Regions from separate parts of the Homo sapiens genome. Here all the other regions are linked to region 1. Evidence: promoter capture Hi-C in 16 types of primary human blood cells and fetal thymus (Javierre and others, 2016). All regions are on one chromosome and are shown on one strand. The core of a region is centred on a gene start or on the middle of the fragment in contact, and the rest is flanking DNA. Distances in the headings are between cores, read along the strand shown. Region 1 holds the start of SPATA1 (spermatogenesis associated 1). Region 2 overlaps MCOLN2 (mucolipin TRP cation channel 2). Region 3 has its middle 62 kb from the start of PRKACB. Region 4 has its middle 21 kb from the start of LPAR3. Region 5 has its middle 42 kb from the start of PRKACB. Region 6 has its middle 23 kb from the start of PRKACB. Region 7 overlaps PRKACB (protein kinase cAMP-activated catalytic subunit beta).

Region 1 (4,063 bases), core at 703-3,202:
GCAGCAGCTAGGGTTTTCAAAGTAAAGCTCTTGGAGTATTTTAGCCTGAGAACCTCATGTCATTTTCTTTGGAGACTAAAGATGTACAATTTATTGCTTTCACTATCCCACCCCCATTTTTTTTTCTTGGTCCATCCTATCTATGATAAAGGCACACCTGAATGACATTTAATGGTTACGAAATAAATGATTTCGAGTTTCAGAGCCAAATCCAGCCAAGACTGACTAGAAACCACTGTGATGAGGTAAGAATTGGGAGAGTAGAGAAATGGATTCCAAACTGCAGTGAGGTCTACAGCATTTCAAGGACTGGACGTGAGGGGGATCCCACACCAAGACGAATGAGAATTCCCTTCCCTTCTGAGTTGACCACAACTGAGTAAGCTAGGTCCCTGACATTTCTAGTTAACAAAACTAAATGGGAGACTCTCTCTCAGGAGGATCCTGCACCAAGACGAATGAGAATTTCCCTTCCCTTCTGAGGTGACCACAACTGAGTAAGCTAGGTCTCTGACACTTCTAGTTAAGAAAGCTTAGAGACCCTCTCAGTTCACAAAACATTTCGGCAAGTAATAAAGACTAGCCTGATGAGTATAAAATCAAATCATCTTAGGAACTGGCTGCTTTTAACAGGGCACATGATTTACATTCTTGTTTCTTTTTTTAACTGCAGAAGTGTTTCACATGTAGCCTGACCTATTGTACCAGAAAGAAGCCAATCCATTTAGGACTGTAAAAATCAGGAAATACTTAGAACAGCACTTGAATGTCAAGTTATTCTATCAACACAGACAAAAGGCTTTTTCTCCCAAAGTACCCCAAGACAAGGCCAATACTAACCAGACGCCAAAATAAGACCAATAATTACCCACAATAATCATTTTCTCCGGCATGCGGACCAGTCGATATCCCCAAGGTCAAATATGAGCAAACTGTGCCATAGGTATGAAATGCACGCTTTGTTCGAGGTTGTACGGGGCACTGACCGGAACTTTACACTCCAGGATCGTTTCGAAAAATGCTTATTCAATCCACAGTTTAAGTTATGCAATAATTCGCTTAAAAGTATGTGTTCAACGGACAAGAGAAGTTGAAGGTAAGAATTTAATACTAAAGGAAGTAGGTTTGGGAAAGATCAAATGGGAGAAAAGTCTGCTCTGAATCAAAAGTCGGAAAATACCCTGTCCGATGAGAAACAGGAGGCTGGCAAAGTGGGAAAGGAAGGGTGCGGACAGCGCGCGGAGGCGCAGCTGTTGGTGAGACCAGCCGAGAAGGCTGCCAAGGGAGGTAGAGACGGAGGAGGACCGGAATGTCGGCCACGGTTCAACCCAGGGGCCAGCCCGCCTCGGAAAGTCCTGGGGCGGAAGGGCGAACTAATCGTCCCCCTAAAACACAGCGTAGACCCACGCGGCGCCTGCTCTAAAGCTGGCCGCTCCCCGATCGCCGCCGCTGAGCGCGCGTCCTCTCCAGGGGAAGCGAGGGCCGGCGCGTGTCCCGCCCGCCCCCGCCAGCTGGGCCGCCGGATCCCACCCGCCGCCGCCGCCTTCCTCCCGCCTCGGCCGCCCGCCCCCGCTCACTTTTACGCGGTTGAGTCCGGCCTCCAGCCGGAGCTGTTGAACCACTTTCTTCATAGCGGCGACGCTGGAGGAGCCAGACATGGTGCACGCGACGGCCGGGCCGATTCGTGGGTCGGTGGGTCGTGGGCCGTGGGTCGGCGGGGCCAGACAACTCAGCGGCGCGCGGCGGGGGCGGGGCTCCGAACTTTGTCTCTAAGTTTCCGGTTCTGTGCTCAGCGGCTCCACCCTCGGTGCGCATGCGCGCCTTGCCAGCCCTCTGTTCCAGCTCCACACCCGGCCCCGAGCGCGAGCCTGGAGGAGGGGGAGGAGAAGGGGCGGAGCAGTCGGTGGGCGCGGCGGCTGCTGGAGGCTAGCGCGACCCGACTCTTAAGTTTTCTTTTCCTCTCCAGAGGGGCCGATTAGGGAGAGGTAAGGAGAGAGCTTACCGTTAGCCGCGAAGAACTAAGAGGGGGTCTGAAGAGGACCAGGGAGGGAAGGCAGAGCTTGTGGGAGTTTCTAAAAGGCCCGGCGGCGGGTGACCAGGAGGTCTCAGTTTTCCTCCCAGTTTGTGGGAAGGGTTGAGGGAAGTGAGGGGAGATACTGGGTGAGGCGTAGGAGCTACTGTGCACCCGGCGTGAGTCACCCGCACACCCCCGCCCCGTACAGGCGTGTCTCTCTGTGACCCGAGTTTGGCCAACAGGCATTTTCAGTTCCACCCCCAACCCCCAGCCCCGCTGACCCGAGGCGGAGAGCAGGCGCGGAGGTCGCTGTCGCGTACCCAGCGGAGCCGGGCGGGCGGGGAGCAGGGGCGCTGATTCGCTGGAGAAGGGATCTTCTCGAGGTTTGACTTTACTGGCTTCTTAGCTCTTGAATCGGTTTTTCTGAAGGAGATTGTGAAGAAGCCAAGGTGCTGGCTGAAGATTACACCTGTCTGCTCGGTTACCCATTTACTCTGGAGAATTAATGCTTATTGTACTTTTTAAAATAAAACTTATTTTTGTGTTTCCGGAAAGTTTGCTCTTTAGTATTTCCGTTGTAATTTATTACCTCCTGCTTGAAATTGAGTACCAAAGGAGTTTTTAGGAGAGAGGGTAGGGTCTAACCAAACAAAATAGGCTCAGCCAGTAGGTCTTTCTTTCATCCACGGAAATATGTGTGTTATGTCACAGCACTAAGGGCAGATGTTTCCTATTTCTTTTCGGGTAGTCAATCTCCGAATGCGCTGATGTTTTCCATTAATGTTAATAATTTTATCATTAATGGATTTCAAATTTTTTATTAGGGAAGCATGTGTAATTGCACTGGTCAACAAAATCTAATTTATTTACTCAACAGTTTATATCAGTTCGCAAAAATGTACATCGTAAGTTTAGCATTTTACTTAATTCATACGGATGTAATGATTGGGGTTAAAACCAGGGTTTGAATTCTGGCTCTGCTACTTACGGTATTCTTGGGCAAGCCACTTAAGTTACTGAGGCTTTATTTCCTTATTTCAAAGTAAATTATACAGCTTCGTAGAGTTGTTTTTCGGAATGAAATGACATTATATGTAAAAAGAATGTGAAAGCTATCTCAATAAATATTGTCTTTTCCCAAAAGGTATTGTAATTATTTCACCTTTGGTGCTTTGTTGACTGTATAATGCTAAAACGTCATTCATACTTTACAGATTTGTAAGATTAAACACAAGTATCTATTCAAAGAATGATCTGTTTTACAGTAGTTGTAAAATATATCACTGAACTCTTAGAACCGTGGTATGTTAATGCTGGAAGAGATTTTAGGGAATATATGGTCCAATAATTACTTCTGTGAGGGAGACTGTTGAGGAATAAGCAGTGTTTTAGGCCGAAACAGTTTCAGAAAAAAAAAAAATTGTTGCTTTTTTATTAACTGCTGCATTGGGAAACCACAGACTGGAGTGCTGTCTCAAACACCAGGTGTTATTTTTTTGTAGCGTGTGTTTAAAGATTCTATTTAGGATACAAAAGAAAAATAAAACATTGAGGCCTGGTATGGTGGCTCACGCCTGTAATCCCAGCACTTTAGCAGGCTGAGGCGAGCAGATCACGAGGTCAAGAGATCGAGACCATCCTGGCCAACGTGGGGAAACCGTCTCTACTAAAAAATACAAAAATTAGCTGGGCGTGGTGGTGCGCGCCACCCAGGAGTCCCAGCTGCCCAGGAGGCTTGATGCAGGAGATTCGCTTGAACCTGGGAGGCAGAGGTTGCAGTGAGCCGAGATGGCACCACTGCACTCCAGCCTGGCGACAGAGTGAGACTCCGTCTCAAAAAAAAAAAAACAAAACCATTGAGATAACTTTAAGTTCAGTTGCATCTGAAGTGATTACCAGTAAATATAGTTTATGAACTATCTGTATCTCTTAAACTTTTGTTTAGATGTTCTTTGACCTTCCACAATGATCTAAGACATTTCAAACATGTTACCAACTGTACAGACATAGATGCTCACTGTTCAGTTGGTTGAAGACTGGCCTGTTGTC
Region 2 (4,063 bases), core at 1,045-3,544, 430 kb after region 1:
TATACTGAATACATGCTGAAATAATATTTTGGGTATATTAGGCTTAAAATATATAATTAAAAATAATTTCATCTGTTTTTTTATTTCTTCATGTAGCTACTAGAAAATTTTACAGTATAGGCAAGGCTCTCAATTGTAGCCCAAACTGTATTTTTCTTGGACAGTGCTGGCTCAGAGCATCCCAGTTTCACCTGGATCCTTTGAAAGGACAAATTGAACATATGGAAATGCAGTCAGGCTCACAAAACAAATAACCTCATTTTCCATGAGGTGACCTTGACACCATTGAAAGAATGAAGCCGATTACATGGCTGTCCTCTCACAGTTGATCTCCAAGTACAAGACTGTTTCTTGTCAGGCTAAATGCTCTCTTGCAATGATCTGTTTTAGATAATACCAAGAAAAGCTCTACAGGGTATGGGTCAAAGCACAGGTACTGGAGTCAGGCCGACCTGGGTTTGAATCCCATCTCTGCCACTTTCTAGCTGGGTAATCTCAGGAATATTATTTAATATATTAAGGTGCCTATTCTCTGTAACAGGACAATCAGATTTCTTCACAGAGAAGGGGAGGGAAGGGTTAACACAGCAAGGGAGATGAAGAATCTTGGGCACCATGCCTAACAGACAGCACTTGAGAATGGTAGCCATCTAGTAAAATTCTAGCAATCTTATCTGAGCACCTTCCAGAATAATGATGAGGTAGGGGAGACGGGGATGGGGTGCAAAGGAGATGGGACCACTTGTCCACAGACCTTGGAGTCAGTGAATTAAAGCCGAATCCTCAGGAACGGTATTTATTCCACACAGTGCAACACTGCCCTCTAGTGACAAAGAGGTGGAAAAGCTTTCAGAGCATGAGGCAAGCAAGGAAGAAAAATACATTTTTCCAGGCTCTAAGACAGTAAGTTCTCCAAATCAGAGAGATCATATCAAAGAATAATTTTTTCTCATGAGTCACCTTTAAAGCAGTGACATGGAGTATGAAGAGCAATATTATCAAGATTTACTACCAACCCAGAGGTTGTCACTTTGTTAATTATATAATATCTCAAATAGGAAAAACAGTAATTCTCTCTAGACATATTAAATGTGACACCTAAAAAGAAGAAAGTCTGAGTGTTCCAGGTTACTCGACATTATTCTGGTAGGACAGCACGGAGGTTTAAGATTCATGTATAACAGTTTGTAAACCAGATTTGATCACAGATTTGGTTAATGCAACTAACAAGGTCAAAACTTAAGGCTGAACTGGTATACAAACTTGGAAGGAATACTTACCATTTTTAACCTCTTTTCTCCTTGCAGAGCACCTAAGTGAGGCTAACAGTACCCTGGGTTGTTGTGGGGAGTAAATAAGAAAGAACACCGAAATGCCCAGCAGAGTGTCTAACACACAAGCAGTAAGTGTTAGCTGCTGCTATTTTTGTTGTTTCTGTTGTTCCAACTGCCACAGGCCCAAATGGAGGAAAAGCCATAAGATAAAATAACTCCTTTTACTTTTTTGGGTTAAAACCAAGGCTTACCTAGTTTCATTTCCTGATGCATCTACCAATCAAATGTATCATTTTATAACAAGAACATCTTAGCACAACTTTGATGTCCCTGAGATTATAATGCTAACTGAAGTTTGGTAATAGTTTAGAATTCAGATACTGATCTTTAATAAGGCAGAAAGATGATGCTGTAATCAAAACCGTCTGCAGAGACAAGACGTGTCACCATTTCTATCGTAAACCTACTATGGTCGTTTTAGGCAGTCTCTGCCCATCTTCATTCTTCTCAATTAACTTGGATGAAAAACATAATACTTTAAATTGGAAATTTTTTATAATAATTTTCCTCACTTAATTTTCATTTTTAATATAGTGATCTCACGTCCAAACATTTCCCATTTGATGATCACCGGGTAACCATGTGACCCCTTAAGCCAGTCCCAGACAACTATAATACATGCTTTCTAGTATTGTACAGTTCTTGTTTCAATATCCTGTAGTCACTTCTATATCCTGAAAAGGAAAAAAAGAAAAAGAAAACTGATACAAAGATATGTGATTACTGATGTCAAGGGTACATGCTAGAGAAGACCAGGAAGCAAGTAAGTGCTAGAAACCCACGTTCAAGGGTCCCACGTGCCCCATCTGCAGAAGGAAGAATGTGAGCTACACACCTTGTCATGGTATGGTCCTAAGACAATCCAGCCACAGAATGTGTAACCCAGATAAATCATACCAGCACAAGCACAAAACCGAAGAACTTTTGGCAGTGAGGCCTGCATTGTTAAAATCAGCACCTGAAAAAAAGAACAGAATGGGTGAAATGAAAAAGTAGCTATTAGAACCCAAAGAATAAATGAGTCTCAACTGCAGTGGCACTACCCGGTGCCGCATCCTTACATTATATGCCTGGAAATAACCCAGGTATCTGATGACTCCAACCCAAACCAAGAGCGTAGAGGTTCCAAGAAAAATGCTGCAGAGATCATAGTTTGTGAGATTCTAAGGAATGAAAAAAAAGAAAGAGAGAAATGAGTAAAATATTTGACTCCACTTAGCTTATTAGCCTTACATTAAACCAATTAATAAAAAAAGAACTATCTGCCTCCCTATAGGTGATAGAGTTTTTTTTTGAAGAAAAAAAAGAAGAAAAACAGATATAATTCCAAATATTTGTGTTTCTCATTTTCTTTTAGTATTTCAATTGGTTGAACTAAATTTTTTTCCAAATAATACTCTGAAATAGAAATTGTATTTAGGTTGAACTAAATTTTTTTCCAAATAATACTCTCAAATAGAAATTGCATTTATCACTGACCTAGGCATTCGAGGATACAAATTAATGGTGTTTGTTAAGTACCAAACAATACAATTCAGCTGCTTTTGAAAGAAAACTCCAGCATGATTTCCTAACACAGCTGCAGCTCTGAGGAAATTCTAGGGCTAGTTGAAAAGACAAACACACAAACATGATTCTCATATAATACGCTAAATGCAGTGAAAGACACAATGCCTAGCTCATCACAGAGGGACACCACAGACACGACCCCAGAGCAAAGACAGGCCTGCAGGACAGGCTGGGAGGAAGCACCACAGGTAAGTGGACAAAAGCTGAACAAAGGCACAATGCTGACAAGACGTCCTAGAGGGGCAGGGTCAGAGCAGGGGCAGGAGCAAGAGGCAGAGCTGGATGATGATGACCCCAGGGGCCATGCTGCTGAGGGAGGCCACTTCATCCCAAAGTAGGCCCCAAGAGGTAGAAAGGATGGTAACAGCTGGATAGACACTTCCAGAAAAGTCCCTCTGACAGCTGTGTGAATGGATCTCAGGGGTATGAAGTAGAAGACGGGAAAGCTGGTGAGGAGGCTGCTGTCACAGTTGGCCAGAAAGGAAGAAGCCTGAAGAAAGCCAGAGGGAGCCGGGATGGGAGAGAATTAGGCATGTCAGGGTTAGGAGGTGTGGCTGGAGGGACCTCTGACCAACAGCAGAGAATGGACGGGAGAATAGTGCGGTGAAGGAGGAGTTGAGGCTTAGTTAGGAGATCAAATCAACTAAGTTATACAAAGGGTCAGGCTTTAGCGGGCAGTCTGACATTCCTGCCCTCACCCCATCCGTCGGAGCACCCAATGGTCACAGATCCTCCCCACAAGCTCTTGACATGCAGGTTCAGGGAAGGGACTGGTTTATGGATAAGCTGCTCCTTTGGCAACTTAAAAAGAAAAATGAGGCCCAAATAACCAATCTTTTCAAGCTTAGTCACTATTCTGGAGCTGTTGCCAAGTTTCGTTCCATGGAACATCGGCTTCCTTTCCCTTCACGAGGAACCAAGCCAGGGGAGGCCTCACTTGTGCTGGTGTGAGAAAAGGGAAGACACGAGAATCAAAGTGGTCTCCAAAGGATGGTACGTCTTAAGATGCCTGTGGCCATCCAGGAGAAGATGAAGAACAGAGACTTTAAATGGGCTTCCCTCACCTTTGCTTTGATTTCCATTTTTAATATGGAGCCAATGATTGTCATTAGGTCGCTGATAATCACCAGGACATACCAGCCGTTGATGAACTCCCACTG
Region 3 (4,063 bases), core at 976-3,475, 420 kb before region 1:
AAAATTTGTTTTTCAAAACTTTTAGAAATATATGATGTTAGAGATCAGCCTGTACAATCATTCCCTTTCAAAGATCCTGACCTCCGAAGAAGCTGGAGTTGAGATCATACTGTTAGTAATAACAGAGTAAGGAATAGAGTCTGATGCCTGGACTCCATTCAGCATCAATAAATAATCAGTTAATATGTTTATTTTCAAAATATTCACCAAATGTTTTAGTTTCAATTAAAGACTATAAGTAAAAGCTGAAAAATGTTACTGTCTAATGGGAAAGAAAATATGTATATATAAGAGTTACCTGAAAGGCAAAAATACAAGTGCTAACATTATGGAAAGTGGAATTAGAACTCTGAAAATTGCTGTATGAAAATGTTTGATTTGAAAAGTTGATTAAAAATATCAAGTCAGTTAAGATTTCAGGTTCAGTTAGCACCAAGCTTCAGAAAGGCAGGTGATTCCAGAGCTTATTTCTAAAAATATTCCAGAAGAATGAAGTTAGGCATAAAGATAATTTAGAAGGGTCTTGGTTAACTTTAACTATCTGGTGCCTGTATTGTACTCTACTGAACCTTTTCCCTCTATTAGAATTAACATTTTCTGGGGTAAGACCTAAAAGCTAGGTGAGATTCCATCTTCATCTCCACAGGTTTTGGAGATAACATTAACTTAGGTACCTGTTGTTCTGCTGTAGTGAATTAGGAAATTGTATTGATGTATCTCAAAACTTAATGAAAGAATAACTGGTACTATTACATACCTAACTGCTCTGTGTGTGTTTTTAAAATTACTCTTGAAGATATATTCCTTTTAAAATTTGGGCGTAGTTATTTAAACGTCAGCTAATACAGAGAAACATAAACTTTTAGAAATATGATAAAATTCTCAGAGAAGTTTTAAACTCTTGTCAGTTAAGTTTGTTTTACTTATCCAGTCTCTTCCTTTTACACCAGCCCCAGTCACCAACACACCAAAAAAACACGCTACTTCTTTTAACCTGGGAGGGGTTTTTATTTATTTCATTTTAAAAAAATACTATACCTCCAGGTTGCCTATGGGGCTTTGTGTTATACATTCATTGCAAAAATGTTGAGGCCCATGGGTGAAAAGTGTTGGTAGAGGTTTGAATGTAGATTCTTTCATGACTGCAAGTCGTAAAGTTACCATGTGACCTAGTGTTCGCATATGATCTTTGAATGTTTTCCAGAGTATCTCTCTGTCCTGTGGATTTGAAAGTCAGTAGGAATTAATCAAAGAAAGCCACCAGTAGACTAGGTTCAACAAAAATGCAAGTTTCTTAACAACTAACATTTTTTGAGGACTAATACGTGCCAGGTTCTCTAATGCTTTCCGTGTATAAACTTTTACTTACTCTTTTAAACTGTAAAGCACTTGAGTTATTCCTTCATTTATGGATGAGGAAATGAAGGCTCAGAGAGCCTAAGTGACTTGCTTAAGGTTGCATAGCTAGTAAGTCAAGAAGCAACATTTAAGTTGAGGCAACTGTAACCTCAGAACCTGAAATTCTAACCACTTTGCTGAACAGCCTCTGTATCCAATAGAATAGCCGATGCTAAGACACACAGAATAGCTTAGACAATTATAGCACATTTCAGTTTTCAAACATGACTTTATTTGGTATATTAAAATCTTAAGTGAAAAAGATTATTTTTTTCTTGTACCATTCTCTGGATTTTTATCATCATTATCTTTTCAGATTCAATATAGTAGAATTTCAAATTAAACCACATAAAACTAATTTTATGTACTTAAAGCCTTAATTACTACAGTACTTATATTTATTTTTTCCCATTTGTAAATGTATACTTTTCCCTTCTTGCCCAATAGTTGATAAAAAAAATTATTATTTGAACTTGTATTACCATTTTAAAAGTATTGGCAAATTCTCATTTCACCATGATTAGAGTAGCGCTGTCCAGTCAAACATTCTGTGATAATGGAAGTGATCTCCACCTATGCTGTCCACTGTAGTAGCTACTAGCCACATGTCTGTTGAGCACTGGAAATGTGACTAGTACCACTGAGAAACTGAATCTTTAACTTACATGTGGCTAATTAGTGTTTGGTATATTGGACAACACAGGTTTAGAACATAGTTGTTTTTGCATTTAATAGAAATGCCAACCCATCTTTCTGTCATCTTGGTTATTTGTGGATCCTTACAAGTGAGTGTAGATGAACGGAATGCTGGATTTATTTTTTCTCATTTAAGAATTAACTTATTTCCTCAGAATAAGCATTTATAAACTTAGTGAGCAAATTATTATAGTTCAATAATTTGTGTTTAATTTATTAACTACAAAGTTAAATTATTTTTGGGGCTGTACTAGAAATAAAATTTTGTGATTTTTAGTAATCTCAGTGAATATCTTCTATTGAAAAATTTCTGTAGATTTAAATGCAATATAGTGATTTCTTATACCTTACTTAGGTCTTTACACCTTTCAATTATCAAAGGAAAATCAGTAGCAGATATTTGTTCCAATTCTGTAGAATGCAGAGGTACTGGGGAAGTCTTTCTTGGGTGTAAGACAAAAAAATCAAAGCAATCAGTTATGCAATTTTGATGATAAATACATATGATCTCATCGAGTTCCATGATTCTGTGATTCTGTTTGTGCAGATTGTGTACTGTATCAAATTATCTCATGTTCAGGAACCATTTTTCTTATTCTCCTCCTCTTATTCTCCTCAGTGTCCTTCACTTAGGCTGTAGACAGATTGTTGCTTTTTCATTGCCAGCAGCAGGATAATTAGAGGCATGAAAGCCAGCTTAGAAAAGTAAGCCATGGCTGAGTGACAGAAGCAGCACGTGAGAAGGTCCTAGATAAGCCAGGATAGCTATTAAGATCCTGTCAGATAATTAATAGTTGACCATAATTCATTTTGACATTCCATTAAATTAATTTTTAAAAATTAGTACAACTTATGAAGTTCTATATCTAGGTGATAAATGTTTGTATACGTGGGTGATCAAATTTCCTCAGATTAATAAATCCTAAATTCTTAGTGAATAACATTGTGTTAAATAGAAAAGTGTGAAATTTATGAAAGGTAAATATGCTTAGGTCACTATCATTTTGGGTATTTAATCTTACTTTTAAATGTATTCCTTCAAGAATGTCCTGTATAGTTCTTTGTTCATTGCTTCATTCATTCCTTTATTCAGTACACATAATTGAGCTCCTAAAATGTGACAGACTCTACACAAGACTATGGGAATAAAGATTGAATAGGACAGAGTACCTGCTCAGGGTGCCCATATTCCAGAAGGGGGAAGATAGACATGTCAGCAAACACATGAAACCTGCCACAAATCCTTTCATTAAAGTTCAGCTGGGGAACCAAGGGAAAGAATGGTCATTTCCACTGGGATGGGGAGGAAGAGGTTCAAAAAGGACTTCAAAGAGGAGTTGAACCATGACTTGAGCATTGAAAATGATAAATGTTCATCAGATGGATTATAGGAGGAAGGGTGTTCTGAGTAGACCGAGCATTGATAAGTGAAGATGCAGAGGAGTGAAACCATGTAACATATTCAGGATAAGGAAGTAAGTTGCCCATTATGATTAAATGATGGAATGTGGGGTTGGTGATAGGAAGAGGGGACATTGTATAATGATAGATGAAACTGAAGAAATGGACAGAGGGCCACATAATGGAGAGAGTTTGAATTTTATCTTTTAGACACTAGGGAGCCATCGTGCACTTGGAAATAAGAGAGAAACATGATACAATTTGGGTTTAAAAGAGGTTACTTTGGTGGTGATGTGAAGATAAATCATTATGGAGCAAGTGGAATAGAGGCAAGATCAATTATAAGACTCCTATGATAATTTGGGTGAGGGATTTTGAGGGTCTGAACCAAGGTGGTAGAGGTTGGGATGGAGAAAAGGATCTGAAATGGGAGAAATTTGAAAAATTGAGCAGAATGTATTGTACTGATTGCATGTGGGAAATGAGGAAAAGGAGGATTGGGGATGACACGTTAAGTTTAAGCTTCAATGCCATGGTAGATGGGTTGTAACGCCAGTAATAGAGTCAG
Region 4 (4,063 bases), core at 735-3,234, 410 kb after region 1:
TTTCTTAGTAATGGGTTTTGGAGCTCTTGCAAGCATGAGACCAGAATGTCTTGCCATGCCTTGCTATGGTTTTAGACAGGGTCTCATTCTGTTGCCCAGGCTGGAGTGCAGTGGCGCAATCTCAGCTCACTGCAGCCTCTACTTCCCCGGCTCAAGCCATCCTAGCACCTCAGCCCCCAGGTAGCTGGGACTACAGGCATGCATCACCACAGTTGGCTAATTTTTGTATTTTTAATAGAGACGGGGTTTTGCCCTGTTGCCCAGGCTCGTCTAAAACCCCAGAGCTCAAGCAATCCTCCCACCTCAGCCTCCCAAAGTTCTGGGATTACAGGCATGAGCCACTGCACCGGGCCTTATTCTGAATTCTTGAGATGGCTGACATGAGTTAGAAAATACAAAACAAACAAAAAATAATAATAAAAGAAAGTAATTGGGACACTAATAGAGTCATTGGCCAGAAGTCAGTGGGAAGCGTGGTCCCCATGCAGATGGAGTCTGAGTGCATCAGCCAGGACAGCGTATCAATTATGCTCCTCACAACAGGAGATCAGGGCGGTGCATTTCTATAACCACCACAGCAATGGAGAAGCCGGACAACACCGTGACTGGGATGAAAATAAATGTCACTAATGAGAGGCAGACCAATGCGTGGATCTCTGGATATAATATGACACCACACTGCTTCTGTGGTATTCCTGCCGAAAATGCATACCCTGAATCTAATAATGAGGAAACACCAATCCAGATTAAGGGGCTATCCGTAAAATAATGACCAGTATTCTTCCAAAATCTCAGTCATGAAAGACAAAGAAAGGCTGAGGGACTGTTCCAGATTAAAGGAAACAAGAGGTGCGACAACTAAATTCAACAGTGACCCTGGATTGGATCCTGTGTGAGAGGGGAAAGAATGCTATAAAGAGAATTGTTGGGACAATTGATGAGCTGGATTATGGACTGCAGATTTGATGAAAGCATTGCATCAATATTAAAGTTCCTGAATTTGAACACTGTGTTGTGATTACATAAGAGATTATTCTTGTTCTTAGGAAATATGCACTGAAGTTGCATATTTATGCAACTTTTATGCCCTTTATGCCTTATAATATTTGTATTATACCCCTTTCATAATAGTATATGCAATCTTCTCTTGAATAGTTTAGTAAAATAAATTCTGTAAATCAGAGAGAGAATATGAAGGGCATCTTCTGAAAGGTACAGTAATTGAGATGCATGTCCAACTGCTGATTTCACCAATGATCAAATACTGCATCAAGGCATGAAAAGTACATGAGTGGTATTAAAACACATTATTAACACGGACTCTCTTGGCTTCTAGCCAGTGAAATGAAAGAGGTGCTGAGTCCAGATTTTATGAGGTAACTATCTTTTAAAAATCATGATTTGGTGATTCATTATTGCACATGCCAGAAACTCCACCCCAGTGGATGCAATTATCTTTTTTTAAAAAAGCTAGTTAGATAAGATTATAATTGTGGGCAAGCTGACTTGGATTCATTAACCAATACTGCCACACTGGTTTACTGTAAAGGGGGCAGAAAGGAGGGGATAATCGGCTACTAGTGTATATTTTCAGCTATAGAAATTTAAAAATAGATAGTAGGTCAAGAAGAACACACCAAGACATTTGAGATGTTCATATCAAACTAATTTTCATAATTCTTGCACAAAAAACAGGCTTATTACTTTAAGTTTTCTCTCCATTCACCCAATGTGTCCAGTTTATCCTTTTCAAAGCTTGTTCACGTTCATTTACTCCTAGATATTACATCAGCCTTGTGAACTACCCAGCTGTAAAGACAAGCTGCCCACTCAGGCGGTTACTACTGTGTAACCTTGGACAAATTACGTAACCTTTCTGCACTCTCAGTTTTATTATCCCTGTATTACAGATAAGGATTCTGAGACTTGGAGCAGCTTAACAACTTGTCTAAATCACTAAGCAATTTAGTGTTAGAGCTGGGAACTTCTATGGGGCTTTCGACTCCCCCACCAAGGTAAAAATTATTTTCCATTGAACACCAGCATTATTTGAGTTCAAGGAATGTTGCTTAACAAGGTGTTGTTTGAAAATAGAAGTCACATTTCTCATTAAGTAGGCTAAACATTTTTTTCTGCCATTCAATTCTATTCAATAAGCATTCATTTGGAAGGCAGGCAGCGGAAAGGGAAAAATGGAGAAGGCTTTGGAGTCAGAAGCTTTGGATTTGAATCCAGGTTCTCTACTTACTCTGTGTTCAATTTTCTTTTTGGTAAAATGGAGATCCTGTTATGTAATCTGTATGTTTGCTGAGATGAGTGGCAACAATAGATGGACATAGTGTGCATTCAACCAAATATAGCTTTTTAAAAATATGTTATTTGTTGATAGCCTGCTATTCACCAGGAACTTTACTAGGCACATGAAACACAGAGACAGAAAACAGTCCTTATGGAGGGGGCTCCAAGAATTAGTAACGGTTCTTTCTTTTTTTCTTTTTTTCAAGACAGAGTCTTGCTCTGTCACCTAGGCTGGAGTGCAGTGGCACGATCTCGGCTCACTGCAACCTCCACCTCCCAGGTTCAAGCAATTCTCCTGCCTCAGCCTCCCAAGTAGCTGAGATTACAGGTGTCCACCACCACACCCGGCTAATTGTTATATTTTTAGTAGAGAAGGGGTTTCACCATGTTGGCCAGGCTGGTCTCGAACTCCTGACCTCGTGATCTGCCCGCCTCGGCCTCCCAAACTCTGGGATTACAGGCGTGAGCCACCGTGTTTGGCCTAGTAATACAGTAAGCATACTAAGCCAGCCATATATGCTGCAATGGTTTTTTCCTTGGTGTGCTTTTTGGTTGTATGTATGTATTTATTTTAAGAGACGAAATCTCACCCTGTCACCCAGGCTGGAGTTCAGTGGCACGGTCACAGTTCTCAGTAGCTGAGATTACAGGTGTGGGCCACAATGCCTGGCTAATTTCTATTTTATTTTTTGTAGAGAAGGGGCCTCACCATCTCGCCCAGGGTGGTCTCGAACTCATGAGTTCAAGTGATCCTCCTGCCTCAGCCTCCCAAAGTGCTAGGATTACAGGCATGAAATACTATACCCAGCCTCTCAATGTGCTTTTTAAATTGTGTTTACGTTCTTACTTTTCTAAAATGTTTTGTTTTTATATAATAAAATATATTTGGTTATTTTATGGTTTTGTGCAGCTTTTTTTTTTTTTTTTTTTTTGGAGATGGAGTCTCCCCCATCCCCCAGGCTGGAGTGCAGTGGAGAGATCTCGGCTCACTGCAACCTCTGCCTCCCTGGTTCATGCAATTCTCCTGCCTCACCGTCCCGAGTATCTGGGATTATAGGCTCCCGCCATCATGCCCAGCTAACTTTTTTGTATTTTTAGTAGAGACAGGGTTTCGCCATGTTGGCCAGGCTGGTCTCGAACTCTTGACCTCAGGTGATCCACCTGCCTCAGCCTCCCAAAGTGCTGGGATTACAGGCATGAGCCACCATGTCCAGCCTGTGCAGCTTTAAACTCAGAAAGTCCTTCTTGACTTCTGAAATCACATCAATATTTATTTGTATTTTTTCCTAGTCCTTTTATAGGCTTAATTTTTCACATTTAAATCTGTAATCTATCCAGAATTTATTTGGCTACATGGTCATAAGGTGCTGAATAGTTATGTGGATGACACTGGTTGATGTTACTGTTTCAGTTGGCTTTTACCCATTTTTGTCCCAATAACTTGACCTTCTAAGCTGCCTGCTGTGAAAATTGATTGCCATTTTTGAAAAGGCCAATGGGGAAGAAATATATATCTGTGAGTTTTATCCCATTTAGTTGCTTCAGTTTTAATGTAGGATAATAAATGTTGGCTCTTGTCTCAATCACATAAATGTGGAAACTTTGACAAGAGTATTTTGCGTAAAGGCTAAAGGTCAGAACCTCCCTCATCCTGGAGAAAAGTGGGAGGAGGGTGGAGTCATGTCGTTGCCTGTTAACTCCCCACCTCCAAACTTATCTGCCCATCACCTAGGTTAAAACCCTATCTGCCTCTGCCATCTCTTCT
Region 5 (4,063 bases), core at 1,079-3,578, 400 kb before region 1:
TCCATCAGTCTGATTCTAGGCCCTCTGCTCATAAGCACCATATTATACCATTTCCCTAACACAGTGAGGAAAATTTTCTTTTAAAAATTATGTACTTAAAACTCATCAAATCTGAAGGACCTTAGAAGATCTATCTACCTACCTATCAAGTTTGTAGAGTATTACATAGCTTTTTCTATGTGTCAGGCACTGTTATCAATCCTATAACAACTCATTTAATCTTTACAACTCTTTGAGGTGGGAACCATGATTGTTCTTATTTTATACAAGAGGTAACTGAGGCATAGATTAAGTAACTTGTCCAAAGCCACACAGTTAAAAAGTAGGCAAGCTAGGACTTGAACCCAAACAGTGACTCTAGAGTGTTGTTAACCGTGCCATATTGACTGCCTTTCTAAAAATTTGTGAAGTTTTTACTTCATTTAGTTTTCTCCTTATTATAATCTTTTCAATGATAAGAAACTCATTACGCTGTAAGGCTATGTGCCAGTCAGAGTTACACCAGAGAAACAGAACCAGTAGGATATATCGGAAGAGATATATTGCAAGAAATTGACTTATTGATTGTGGTGGCTGGCTAGGTAAGTCTAAAATCTATAGGGCAATCTGCAATGAAGGGCAAGCTGGACCTCTCAATCACAGGCTGAAGCTGTACTTTACAGGCTGAGTTTCTTCTTCTGGGAAGCTTCAGTTCTGCTCTTAAGGGCTTTCAACTGATTGAGTCAGATCCACCCAAATTATCTATGGTAATCTCCTTTACTTGAAGTAAACTGACTGTGGACTTTAGTCACATCTACAAAATACCTTCACAGCAACACCTAGATCAGTGTTGAATAACTAACGACTATACCCTAGCCAAGTTGACACATAAAAATGTCCTGTAGGCATATTTTTTCCTTAAGCCCTGACAGGTTTGGGGGTTGGTGGTTCATTTTCCCAAGCCAGAAATGGAACTTCCTACTTTCTTTTTAACTTACATTTATTACTCATTCTTATCACCTCCTCATCTCCCATTACCACAGCCAAAAAAGATTTCAGGTGTTTTTCAATAGAAGGCATATATAACCTTTAAAGCAAAATTATAAATACAAGAGCCTTGAAATCAAAGGCAAGAAGATGGTTGAACCAATAAACCGATGTTGAAGCTAGTTACTGTATTTGAGCATAAAATTTAGCACTACATGGTGAGGATACAGTATAAAGCCACTTTCCTAGTGCCAAATTGTAACAGGAATTTAATCTATCTAAATACAGGGAGCAGTGATTTACATAATAAATGAGATAATTATTATTTAATAAAGATTTAGAGAATTCTCTAGATTCCTGTGTTCAAGAAGGAGGGCCTCAAAGCTGCCTGCAGTTATATTTTTATGATAATTATTTATTACTATCTCATGACTTAAAAATTTTCTTAACAAGTAAAATAACTACCTTTTAAAAAATACTGTAAGACCCTTTGCTATGACCTCAGATAATTTAAAGTGATGTCTCACAGACCTTTATTTAGACTGAAAGGCTTATAAAAATTTTGTGTGTGCCTGTAATCCCAGCACTTTGGGAGGCCGAGGTGGGCAGATCACGAGGTCAGGAGTTCAAGACCAGCCTGGCCAATGTGGTGAAACCCCATCTCTACTAAAAAAAAAAAAAAATACAAAACTACAAAAATTAGCTGGGCGTGGTGTTGGGCACCTGTAGTCCCAGCTGCTTGGGAGGCTAAGGTAGGAGAATCGCTTGAATCTGGGAGGCGGAGGTTGTAGTCAACCGAGATTGCGCCACTGCACTCCAGCCTAGGCGACAGAGCGAGACTCCATCTCAAAAAAAATAAAAAATGAAAACAAAAATGCAAAAAGAGAATCTTGTGTGTGGCTCACGTTACTCTAAATTAGACAGTTGGGGTTTTTAGAAATCTTAAGGACTTGTCCCATAGCAGTCTTATGTGAGGCCCAAGGTAGAGAAAGCCCTCTCCAAAGGGAATGTGGATGTGGCTTTTTGTCTCTTGGAATATATTAGAATTTGATAATATGAGAAACCCACAGAGTTTTAAAAGAAATTGTATTAATGTTGATTGAAAGGGTCAGAGATAATTAATAAGGAAAAAAGTGTACGGGCCCTCACCTACTGTGGAAAGGAAGCAGGCTGAAAAGCTACTCACCTCTTCACATAGGCCATTTCATGTGAAAGAATGATTGAGAGAGGGCAGCCAAGAAGCCAGAGAGTACAGCTAAGAGACAAGGAGAACTACTCTCAGGACTAATCAAGGAATGAGTGACATGTGCCCAACTGGACTTTAGAATTGCTATTGATGAGGGAGTGTTTATACCTCTTGTTTTCCCTCTTTTTGAATGGGAGTATCCATTGCAATTTCTATTCCTATCTCACCATCGTGTATTGGGCAGATAACTTGTCTCTTTAGTTCACAAGTCTTTAGATTAAGAGAAACTAAGTATGAGGAGTTGCACTCAGGAAACTGGATCTGAGAGGCCTCATCTATACCTGCATTTGATTTAGATTACATCCTGGACCTTAGGATAAGGCTTCTTGGGGTCTTGGAAGGAGTAAAGTATATTTTGAAAATGGAGGAGTATTCTGTGACAAAGTGAAGATGGCTACAAATTCTTAACCACCCTTTTCATCTAGAAGCATAGCATATTTCTTCATTCCACTGAATCTGGGCTGGGTTTCTCATTGCTTTAACCAGTATAATATGGTGGATGTGATGCTAGATCCGTTACAGGGTTGAGGCTCTGTCCTCTTTTAAGCGAACTGCTATGCAAGAAGTCTGACTATTCTGAGACCAACATGCTGTTCAAAGCCCAACTAGCCACTTAGAGAGAAAGAGACAGAGAGATGGGGTGTGGGGGTGGGGGGTAGAGAAAGAAAGAGAGAGATTGGTAGCACTAGATAAGGTGAATTATTTCATGGGCCTTTTAGTCAGCCCAGCCTTCAGCTGAAGACAGATGAGAGAGTGACTCAGCAAACAGTGTGAAGTGAGCCAGCAGACCTATGACCTCATTTGGGCTGTTCCAGCTTCTCGCAGCTGTTGAGCCACCCAGCTTAGACCCCAGACATTGTGGTATAGAGATGAACAGTTCCTACTGTGTGTTGCCCAAATTCTTGACCCAGAAAATTGTGAGCAAAATATGGTGATTGTTTGAAAACTAAGTTTGTTACATAACACAGATAACTGAAACACAAGTAGAAAAATTCTATCACCTGCCCAACCTCACAGAGCCAGTAAGAACTAGTGTTCTCCCCTTCCCTTTTATTTTTAGTTGACACATAATAATTGTACATATTTATAGGATACAGAGTAATATTTTGATACATATGTAATGTGTAATGATCAAATCAGGGTAATTAGTATTTCCTTACCATAAACATTTATCATTTCTTTGTGTTAGGAACATTTAAATCCTCTCTTGTACTTGAAAATGTACAGTAAATTATTGTAAATTATAGTCACCATACAGTGCTATGGAGCACTAGACCTTACTTTTCCTATCTAGCTGTGATTTTTTATCAGTTAACCTCTCTCTAATCTGTAGTAACCCACAATTATCTAATTCTCTTCCCAACTTTTAATAACCACAATTCTCCTATCTACTTGTATGAGCTCCACTTTTAAAAGCTCCCTCATATGGGTGAGAACATATGGTATTTTTCTTTCTGTACCTGACTGATTTCACTTAACATAACATCCTCTAGGCTCATCCATGTTGCCACAAATAACAGGATTTCATTCTTTGTTATGTCTAAATAGTAGGTCATTGTTTATATACATATATATACACTTTCTTTTTCTGTTAATCTGTTGATAGATGTTTAGGTTGATTCCATATCTTGATTATTGTGAATAGTGCTGCAATAAACATGGGGTGCAGATGTCTCTTCAATATACTGATTTCCTTCCGTTTGCATTAATAGCCAGCATTGGGATTGCTGGATTATATCTTCTATTTTTAGTTTTTTGAGGAAGCTTCCATACTGTTCCATAATGGCTGTACTAATTTACATTCTCACTAAAAGTATATGAGAGTTCCCTTTCTCTGCATCCAAAAAGACT
Region 6 (4,063 bases), core at 1,001-3,500, 390 kb before region 1:
TTTTTAAGGTAACTTCAAAGTTCAAGTGGTGAAACAGCATTTAGGCATTGCAGTATCCAGGACCTCAAATGATGTCATTAGATTTATATATTTTTCTCCCTCTTTCTGTGTTTGTCTCTCTGCCTCTGCCATGTCTTTCTCTGTCTTACAGTATGAATATGATTTTTTTCATTGTTCAGAAGCTGGAGCTGGAAGTGACTGAAATACTTCTGAGAAACCTTATTTCCATGACCATGCTTGTCATCAGAAATACATATTCAAATATCATAGAAGAGCATCTAGTGGGGAGAACTTTATTTTTATCCAAAACTTTAAGAACAAGGAGTCCAGGAAATATATTTTATAGCTTTCCAACCTGTCCAACTATTAAAGAAGGAGAATGGAAGGGACATTGAATGAACCAATTTACAATATCCAGCATGGTCCACTCTTTTGGCTGTTCATCACCTATTTATACCCTTCTACTGATGCTTTCAAAGAATGGCAATTACACTATTCTACAGCTAACTTAATGCTACTGTCCTTCATATAAATGAAAACACTCAACTTCTACCCAAAAAGAGAGATCTAAAAATCCATCAGCCCGTATATCAATTTCTAGATGATATTCACTCATATCATTTAGCCATAATATCACCTTGACTTTCCACAGCCCTAGTACTAAATTATAAAGTTAATGACCACGCCTTATGTAAAATTCCTGGGGAAAGGCAAGAAGGAAATTGATGTGTTTATATGTACACACATACATAGGCACACATATAGCATAGCAAGGTGGCATTTATGAGTAGCTGCTATAGTCCTTGTTCTGTTTGAAAGTTGCTATAAATTTCCCACTGCAGCATATAAGTGTAGAAGGGATTCTTTTTCAGGGTAGTAGTTTAGACCATCATTCTTGAATCATTGAGACCTTGGTAGTGTTTCCTATATTGGAATACTGAAGTCTTCTCTGTTTTTATACTCAATATGCAAATTACAAGAAAGTACCCCACCTCCATCTATAACACAACTTTATGTCTCAGTAATAACCAGGATTAATCACTCAAACAGAAGTAACTTTCCTTTTCGGCCTGTATTTTTCAGTGAAATGTGACCAGAATGCCCAGCTGGCACTCTAAACTTCTGGTTCAAGGGATTAATTGTTACAGGTACTCCCCATACTTGAAGAGTACTTCTAAATTCATATTTCTTGAAGAGTACTTCCAAGGGTATTAAAATGTCTCAACTGTTAAAGAGTCCAAAGTTACAGAGACAAGAAGTAGAAAATTTTCAAATGGGTAACTTATCATACTATAGTTCATTAATTTTGACATACATACTTTTGTCTCACATTTTAGTGTATTCGAAATTAGGATGCTTCCTAAAATGATGACATCAGTCAGGCAATTCTTGTGATGTGCTTGTTATTGTCTATACATGCACAAACATGAAAATGCGTATCAGCAGGTTGGAAGAAAATATAGGAGATGGTAGTAGAGCGCCTCAAAAAATACTGTATCAATATTTTTGATATAAAGAACAATAATTGTGTAAAAACACACAATAATGACTGTGCATCAAAAAATAGTCTGGAAGAGTCAGACTATGAATATGAAAGCATTTTAGGAATTTCTTAACAAGTTTAAAATTTTTTTCACTTCATATGTTTACAAGAGTGATATTAAAAAGTTATGTCTAAATAAATCAAAAATAGTTCTCTCTTAATAGGGAAAAAATTTATAACTGACAAAGTATCTCATAGTTTAATTGCTGTACATTTTTCTTTTTTTTCTTAGTGGTACATGATATAATGGTGATTTTTATAATTGATAGTCATAGATTCAGTGAAATAGGGTGGTGATATCTACCACTCCCACCTCCACCTTCTGGTTCCCAGATACTTGTTTTTTATGGTTGAAGAAACACCAGGTAATGGTCCCTGAGAAGTTTCTTTTGTGTATGAGCTACAAGATTTCAAGACTTTTCAAATCTTGATCTTAGGTAATTTTTGAAGTAACAATAATCACTAATAGTTTGTCTTTAATGTTCTTGTACTAGCTATCACGAGTTTTATGTATCTTTGTTATTGTTACTATTTTGTGTCAATTGCCAAGAGACTTAAACATCTTTTCTAACATGTTCATATTCTCTTGATTAATTACATTATGAAACAACATGCCTATTCATTATTTTTATTTGGAATTTTTCCTTTTTTCATGATTTAGTGTATTTGTTACAAAAAATAACTTGAATTCACTTTTCTATATAGGAACATTTTTATTGATTTTATGTCTCCTCTTTATAATCTCTTTCATATTTCATTATGTTTCTTCTAAATTTATCTTGTTTTTTTAATACATAAATTTGAAGATGAAAAAGGAGGTACTCCTCATATACATTCATGTATTATACATATATATTCATATACATATATATGTACACATTCAAATCACAAGTCTGTCATTTTTAACTTTTTAATTGAAAAATCCCCAAACTTCTTGCCAATCGTAGCTAAAACTGTACATTACCCCTAAACTTTCCCTTATTCAGATCTCTAAAATGCCTGGTGCCACTCCATTAGCACCTGACATAATGGAAAGTGTGAAGAAGGGGAAGTTGGAGAGAAAAGAGACAGCAATCTCAACCAATTGCTATTAAAATATCTTACTTTTGCAAGTCTTACAAAAGCATGTGTCCTTGTGAACACAATGCTAGAATCTCTCCCAGGGTATTAGAAGGGTTGCCTGCACTTGAGAGGTCCTGAAATTTAATCTCTGTTAGCTTCACAGTAAACCTGCTGTGGCCCTCAGATTTCAGTTCTCTTTGTGAGAGAAGCCCTCTCCTCTGGCTGGCAATTTATGATTCCCTTGCACACACTCTCTTTTCTGGGGTCTATAGGACATAAATGTATTTTCCCTGCTATTCCAAGTTGAGCCCCCTCTCAACATAATTCTTTTCACTCTGCCACTGAGCAGAGGTGGTTTTATCTACCATTTAGTACCTTTACATTTTGTACATTTGGTGAGTCCCCCCAAAACAGTCCCTAACTCTTATAAATCCTAGCAGATAGGGTACATGTTAAGTCTCTGAGTGGTTTCCTTGAAGCCCCTCAGTTGATTTGAGGTAAGGGTGACCTCCTGCCCTGAATGTGTTGCATACCTCATAACTGCTCCAAAACAATTCTCTCCAGCACTCTTCAGCCTCTCCCTCTGATGTAAATTGGCTAATGTTGGCAGATCTGGCTTTAAAATCTAGTTTCTGTGGGTGGTTTTATTTTTCATTTGGGAAGGCTGGTCACCTGATAGAAAAATAAAAATAACCATGTTAAGACAAATTGGTGTTTTAGCTGTCTGCTTAATTGCTTTTGGCCTTCAGTTTTCTCTTTGAAATCTTATACTCAATTGAGCAAATGTTTCTCAGTTGAGGGTTTATGTGTTCTAAGTCCTGTGATAGGTACCAGGAATGCAGAGATAAACAGATCCATTGTAAACAGTCAAATGTAATAGAAGAATCATATGGCTAATCTGCCATATATTAAGTCATAGTGTCTAAATTGCATTAAACCAGCTCAATATAAGAACAACTGTTTTCTTAAAAGTTATATGAGATTTTATAAAAGATTTTACCTTGCCATTATATAGTAATTATGATTGAACTTACCAAATTAAATGTAATGTGACGTTTACTAGTATTTTTCCATTAAATTGTTAGTGAATTAAAAGGACGTTTTGGAATTATATGGGGGATCTTTGGAAGACTTAATTTTTTCATGGGTTGTATAAATAGATTTATGAGAGGGAAAATGGATATTAGTTTCTGATATGGTAGTTTATGTGAGAATTTTATAGTTTGATTTGTATAAATAAAATAATGTTATTGCATATTTCTGGTACATTACACTTTTATTTGTATAATAACCTAAACTTGTGTTTATCTTATATTGCTAAAATTTAAGGTAATGACAATAAAAGATTTTTCTGGTATGTATGTGAAGCCTAAATGGCCCCATTCTGCCACCTTCTGGCTGACTCCGTAGCTTATAATATTGTGAGGTAAGTGTCATCTAACCGTTCTGCCATGGTTG
Region 7 (4,063 bases), core at 1,157-3,656, 340 kb before region 1:
TTCCATTTCATCTGTTGTCTTATATGATTGGGATAAGGTTGTTTATAGTATTCCTTTATAATCCTTTTAATTTATCTAGCATCAGTGGTGATATCATAGTTTCATTACTGATTTCTGTAATTAATATCTTCTGTTTTCTTTTTGTTCATTTTGTTTTGATATTTGGTCAGTCTAGTGAAAGTTTTATCATAAGACTTTTGGTTTAATTCATTTTTCTCTACTGCTTTTCTATATATTTTACTGAATATATTATATATAATATAATACTATAATATATAATAATATATACAAAGCTTAAGTTACTGATTTGGAACTTTTCTATTTTACTCTAAATGGTTAAAGCTATGAATTTTTTTTCTAAACCTGCTTTATCTACCTCCAATAAATGTAGATATGCTGTAGTTTATTTTCATTTACCTCAAAATATTTTCTAATTTCCCTTGGAATTTGTTTGTGATTTAATATCTAAATATTTAGAGATTTCTAAAATTTCTTTCTGTTTTTATTTATAACTTAATTCTGCTGTGATTATAGAATATATTTTGAAAGCTTTGGCAAACCCTTCAAATTAATTGAGACATTATATTTTCTAGCATTTGCTTAATATGTAGAATATCCATGTGTGCTTGATAAGAATGTGTATTCTGCTGATGTTAAATTCTGTATTTTATAAATGTCAAGATTTTTTTGATGGTGTTATTTAAGTTGTTTGTCTCTTTTCCAATTTCCTGTCTAGTTTTTCCATCAATTATTGAGAGAGAAGTATGGAAATTTCCAACTATTAGTATTAAATATTTTTCTCCTTTCAATTCTGTCCGTTTTTATTTTAGTACTGTGGGGGCTCTTCTGTTCAATGCATATGCATTTCTAATTGTCACATTTTTCAGATGTATTGGCCTTTTATAATTATGAATGTCCCTTTTGTCTCATAATTTTTCTAGACTTAAAGTCTATTTTGTCTAATATTGATATAGGCATTCCAGCTGTCTTATGGTTACTGTTTGCATGATGAATCTTGTTTTCCTGTTTTTACTTTAGCCTATTTATATCTATGAATCTAAAATGTGTCTCTTATAGATGTTATATAGTTTGATCTTGATTTTTATCCAATCTGATAATTTCTGCCTTTTGATTTGTGTTTCTTCCATTCATAGTTAATGTCACTATTGATATGGTTGGATTTGTAGCTTCCATTTTACTGTTTTCTGTCTCATAGTTTTTGTTGTTCCTCTTTTCCCTTTCTACCACCTTCTTTTCTATTACGTATGTTTTAATTATTTGGTTTTGATTTTTAAAAATAAAATTTAAAAGGCATTTTCTTAATATTTCTTTAGAGATTATAATACACAAGATTATAATTTATCTTATCATAGTTTACTTCAGGATAGTACTGACTTAATTCTAGTGGAATAGAACTGCTTTGATCCAATATAGCTTCATTTCTTTTCCAAATTTGTGTTTTTTCACATATATTTATATATTTTATAAACCCAGCAACATAATGTTGTAATTATTGCCTCATACAACTTTAAGTCTCTTAAAGAAATTAAGAGAGAACAGAAAAAATGTGTATTTATATAGCCTTTTATTTATATATTTACCATTTTTAGTGCTCTTCATTTCTTTCTGTCAATTTGAGCTGTTGTCTAGTATTATTTCCTCTCAGCTTTAAGGACTTAGGTATTTCTGCTTACAACAAATATCCTCCGTTGTTTCTCTGGGAATCTTTCATTTCACCTTTATTTTTGGAGGATAATTTTCCTGGATAGAGAAATGTTGGTGGATGGGTTTGCTTTCTTGTTTCTTTTAGCACTTCATTTCTCTGCCTTCTGGCCCTACTTATTTCTAATGAGAAGTCATTAATCATATTTTTCCCCTGGACGTGATTCATCATTTTTCTCTTGCTGCTTTCATGACTTTTCTCCTTACCTTTCAACAATTTGACTATGATATGTCTCAGTGTGGATCTTTTGGGTTTTATTCTAGTTGGCATTGGCTGAGCTTCTTGGATCCATAGGTTACTGTTTTCCATCAAATTGGGACATTTTCAGCCATTATTCCTTCAAATGTTTTTTCATCACCCTTTGTCTCTCTCCTTTTTTTCTAATTCCCATGAGATATATGTTGGTTCCCTTGATATCCCATAAGTTTCTCAGGCTCTGTCCACTTTTCTCCTGTCTTTTTCTGTGTTCTTCCGACTGGATGATTTCCATTGATCTATCTTCCAGTTCACTGATTTGATCTTTTGCTCTTTTAAATCTGCTGTTGGGCTTACTATACTGAGTTTTAAAATTTTGGTTATTATACTTTTCAAATCTGCACTTTTTATTTTTAAATAGTTTTTCTTTCTATATTGAAAGTTTCTATATGTTGTTCATTACTGTCGTGTTTTCCTTTAGGTATTTAACACAATTTTCTTTTAATTATTTTCATATATGTATAATAGCTATTTTAAAGTCTTTAAAGCCTTTGTCTGCTAAATTCTACACCTGGGCCCATTCAGGGACATTTTTTATTGACTGCTTTTTTTCCTCATTGTGGATCACACAAGTTTTTGTCAAAAATGTGTTTTTTAAAATAACATGTGGTAGTAGCTCTGGGTTTTGATTATTTTTTCCCTGAGGGTTGGTTTTGTTTATTTTTTTATTAAAAACTTCCTTTGTCTTAATCTATGGAATCTGTATCCCTCATGATATGTGACTACTGATTTCTCTGCTTAGTTTTTTCTTCTTATTCTAATTTTTATTTTTTAACCTGGTTTCCTAGGGATTGCCCTGTGTCTCTGTAGCTTAATTGTTATTTAATGATTGATCAGAGGTTGTACTCAAACACTGGGACCAGCCAGTGCTGATGGAACTGTGTGCAAATTGAGGAGCACATGCAGTATTTAGGCAGTTCGGAAGTCTGTACCAGCTTTAACTTTCCACTGGGCCCTCTTTCGTGTCCTTTGTGCTTGTCATTACCTCCTAGTCAGATTGCATAGCAAGGTGGGCAGACTGGGTGGCCTGGTGAACTTACGTAGCCTCTGTCTGTCTCATCTTCATTTACCCCATGCTATGTTTCTTGCTATACCACCAATGTGTTGCTTAGCCCTACCAAGGCCATAGCCTTAGACTGTTAATTTCTTTCAGCTTGCTTTTTTCGTTGACAATATCACTAATGAGTTTTTTGGCCTCCACTTCAAATCAAATCAGCCCCCTCTCATGTCAGCCCCTTCCAGAAGTGAAGCTGCTAGTTTTCATGACCAGCCCTACCCTGGTAGAAGTACTCTCCTGACTGAGCTATAAAGGAGTGGGAGCAGCCCCAGGCAAGAACATCTCTGACTCCCACTGTTTTTAGGCAGAGTTCAGTGGTTCGTCACAAATAAATGTTTCTTAATTTGTTGTTTATGACTGCTCGATTTCCAGAGCCATGAAATCATTGTTTTTGATAATTCTGTTCAGCTTCATAGTTGTTTCTTAGGAAGATTTCCTGACTTACTTCCACATCACCAAAAGTCCTGCCTCACATGGCAACTGTTAAAATGGCAAGTTCACGTGCTGAAGTTCTACTTAACAAGGAACCATTCTATAGATTCTTTGTACCATTTTGGTACAAATTTTGGATCTCTGGTAATCAAAACAATCTGTTCACCATGCTACCCAGTCAGCCCACCTTGCTATACAATCTGTCATCTTAGTCCTGTTTCATGTGAGGAATTTTACATTTCTGCAATAATTGCCAGTAACTTTTTTGTGTATTATTTTCTTTTGAATACCACATGGATGGCATCTGACACTGTTTGTAATGCTGAATTTAATGGAAGTTTACAAATAAGTTATTCTATGATTCTCCTTTAAAAATGCAGATATACATATATGTATATAATATTATTCTCTTCCATAACACAGAATGTTTAAATGGTTAACATTTGTGCTGCAGTATAGCTTTCTGGCTCATGAAAAATGAAAGCTATCAGCGATCTCGGCAATAAGATTCATCGCCAATAGTCACTAGCAACAGCACACAGCATTTTAATATCAGTGAGGTCCACAGCTAGCAGTAAGAGCTGGTGTAATTGAAA

What was found. Contacts are between HindIII fragments. The CHiCAGO score rates a contact against its expected background, and 5 or more counts as called.
Region 2: a fragment that was not itself captured here is called in contact with the fragment with the promoter of SPATA1 in region 1 in 6 of 17 cell types (M0 macrophages, M2 macrophages, M1 macrophages and 3 more); the score reaches 7.9 in M0 macrophages.
Region 3: a fragment that was not itself captured here is called in contact with the fragment with the promoter of SPATA1 in region 1 in 1 of 17 cell types (naive B cells); the score reaches 5.5 in naive B cells.
Region 4: a fragment that was not itself captured here is called in contact with the fragment with the promoter of SPATA1 in region 1 in 1 of 17 cell types (M2 macrophages); the score reaches 6.1 in M2 macrophages.
Region 5: a fragment that was not itself captured here is called in contact with the fragment with the promoter of SPATA1 in region 1 in 1 of 17 cell types (erythroblasts); the score reaches 8.9 in erythroblasts.
Region 6: a fragment that was not itself captured here is called in contact with the fragment with the promoter of SPATA1 in region 1 in 2 of 17 cell types (erythroblasts and M2 macrophages); the score reaches 5.5 in erythroblasts.
Region 7: a fragment that was not itself captured here is called in contact with the fragment with the promoter of SPATA1 in region 1 in 6 of 17 cell types (erythroblasts, total CD8 T cells, monocytes and 3 more); the score reaches 7.5 in erythroblasts.

The regions. Positions count from the first base shown.
Region 1 is chr1:84,504,434-84,508,496 of GRCh38, forward strand. It overlaps SPATA1 (spermatogenesis associated 1), which reads left to right and starts at 1,953. Exons shown (of 14, transcript NM_001397487.1): 1 at 1,953-1,985. It overlaps GNG5 (G protein subunit gamma 5), which reads right to left and starts at 2,148. Exons shown (of 4, transcript NM_005274.3): 1 at 2,003-2,148; 2 at 1,578-1,868. The coding sequence starts at 1,658. RefSeq lists silencers at 1,414-1,543, 1,794-1,873. The HindIII fragment of the contact is 7,618 bases long and covers 531-4,063 here.
Region 2 is chr1:84,935,586-84,939,648 of GRCh38, forward strand. It overlaps MCOLN2 (mucolipin TRP cation channel 2), which reads right to left. Exons shown (of 14, transcript NM_153259.4): 9 at 3,968-4,063; 10 at 2,396-2,497; 11 at 2,170-2,292. Among named protein-coding and RNA genes, the nearest start is that of LPAR3, 44 kb to the left of the region's middle. The HindIII fragment of the contact is 2,900 bases long and covers 845-3,744 here.
Region 3 is chr1:84,080,707-84,084,769 of GRCh38, forward strand. It overlaps a transcript of PRKACB not described here. Among named protein-coding and RNA genes, the nearest start is that of PRKACB, 62 kb to the right of the region's middle. The HindIII fragment of the contact is 3,580 bases long and covers 436-4,015 here.
Region 4 is chr1:84,911,886-84,915,948 of GRCh38, forward strand. No RefSeq gene overlaps it. Among named protein-coding and RNA genes, the nearest start is that of LPAR3, 21 kb to the left of the region's middle. The HindIII fragment of the contact is 462 bases long and covers 1,754-2,215 here.
Region 5 is chr1:84,100,573-84,104,635 of GRCh38, forward strand. It overlaps a transcript of PRKACB not described here. Among named protein-coding and RNA genes, the nearest start is that of PRKACB, 42 kb to the right of the region's middle. The HindIII fragment of the contact is 3,291 bases long and covers 684-3,974 here.
Region 6 is chr1:84,118,994-84,123,056 of GRCh38, forward strand. It overlaps a transcript of PRKACB not described here. Among named protein-coding and RNA genes, the nearest start is that of PRKACB, 23 kb to the right of the region's middle. RefSeq lists an enhancer at 3,922-4,063. The HindIII fragment of the contact is 5,287 bases long and covers 1-4,063 here.
Region 7 is chr1:84,160,302-84,164,364 of GRCh38, forward strand. All of the region lies in intron 1 of PRKACB (protein kinase cAMP-activated catalytic subunit beta), which reads left to right. Among named protein-coding and RNA genes, the nearest start is that of PRKACB, 18 kb to the left of the region's middle. The HindIII fragment of the contact is 3,718 bases long and covers 548-4,063 here.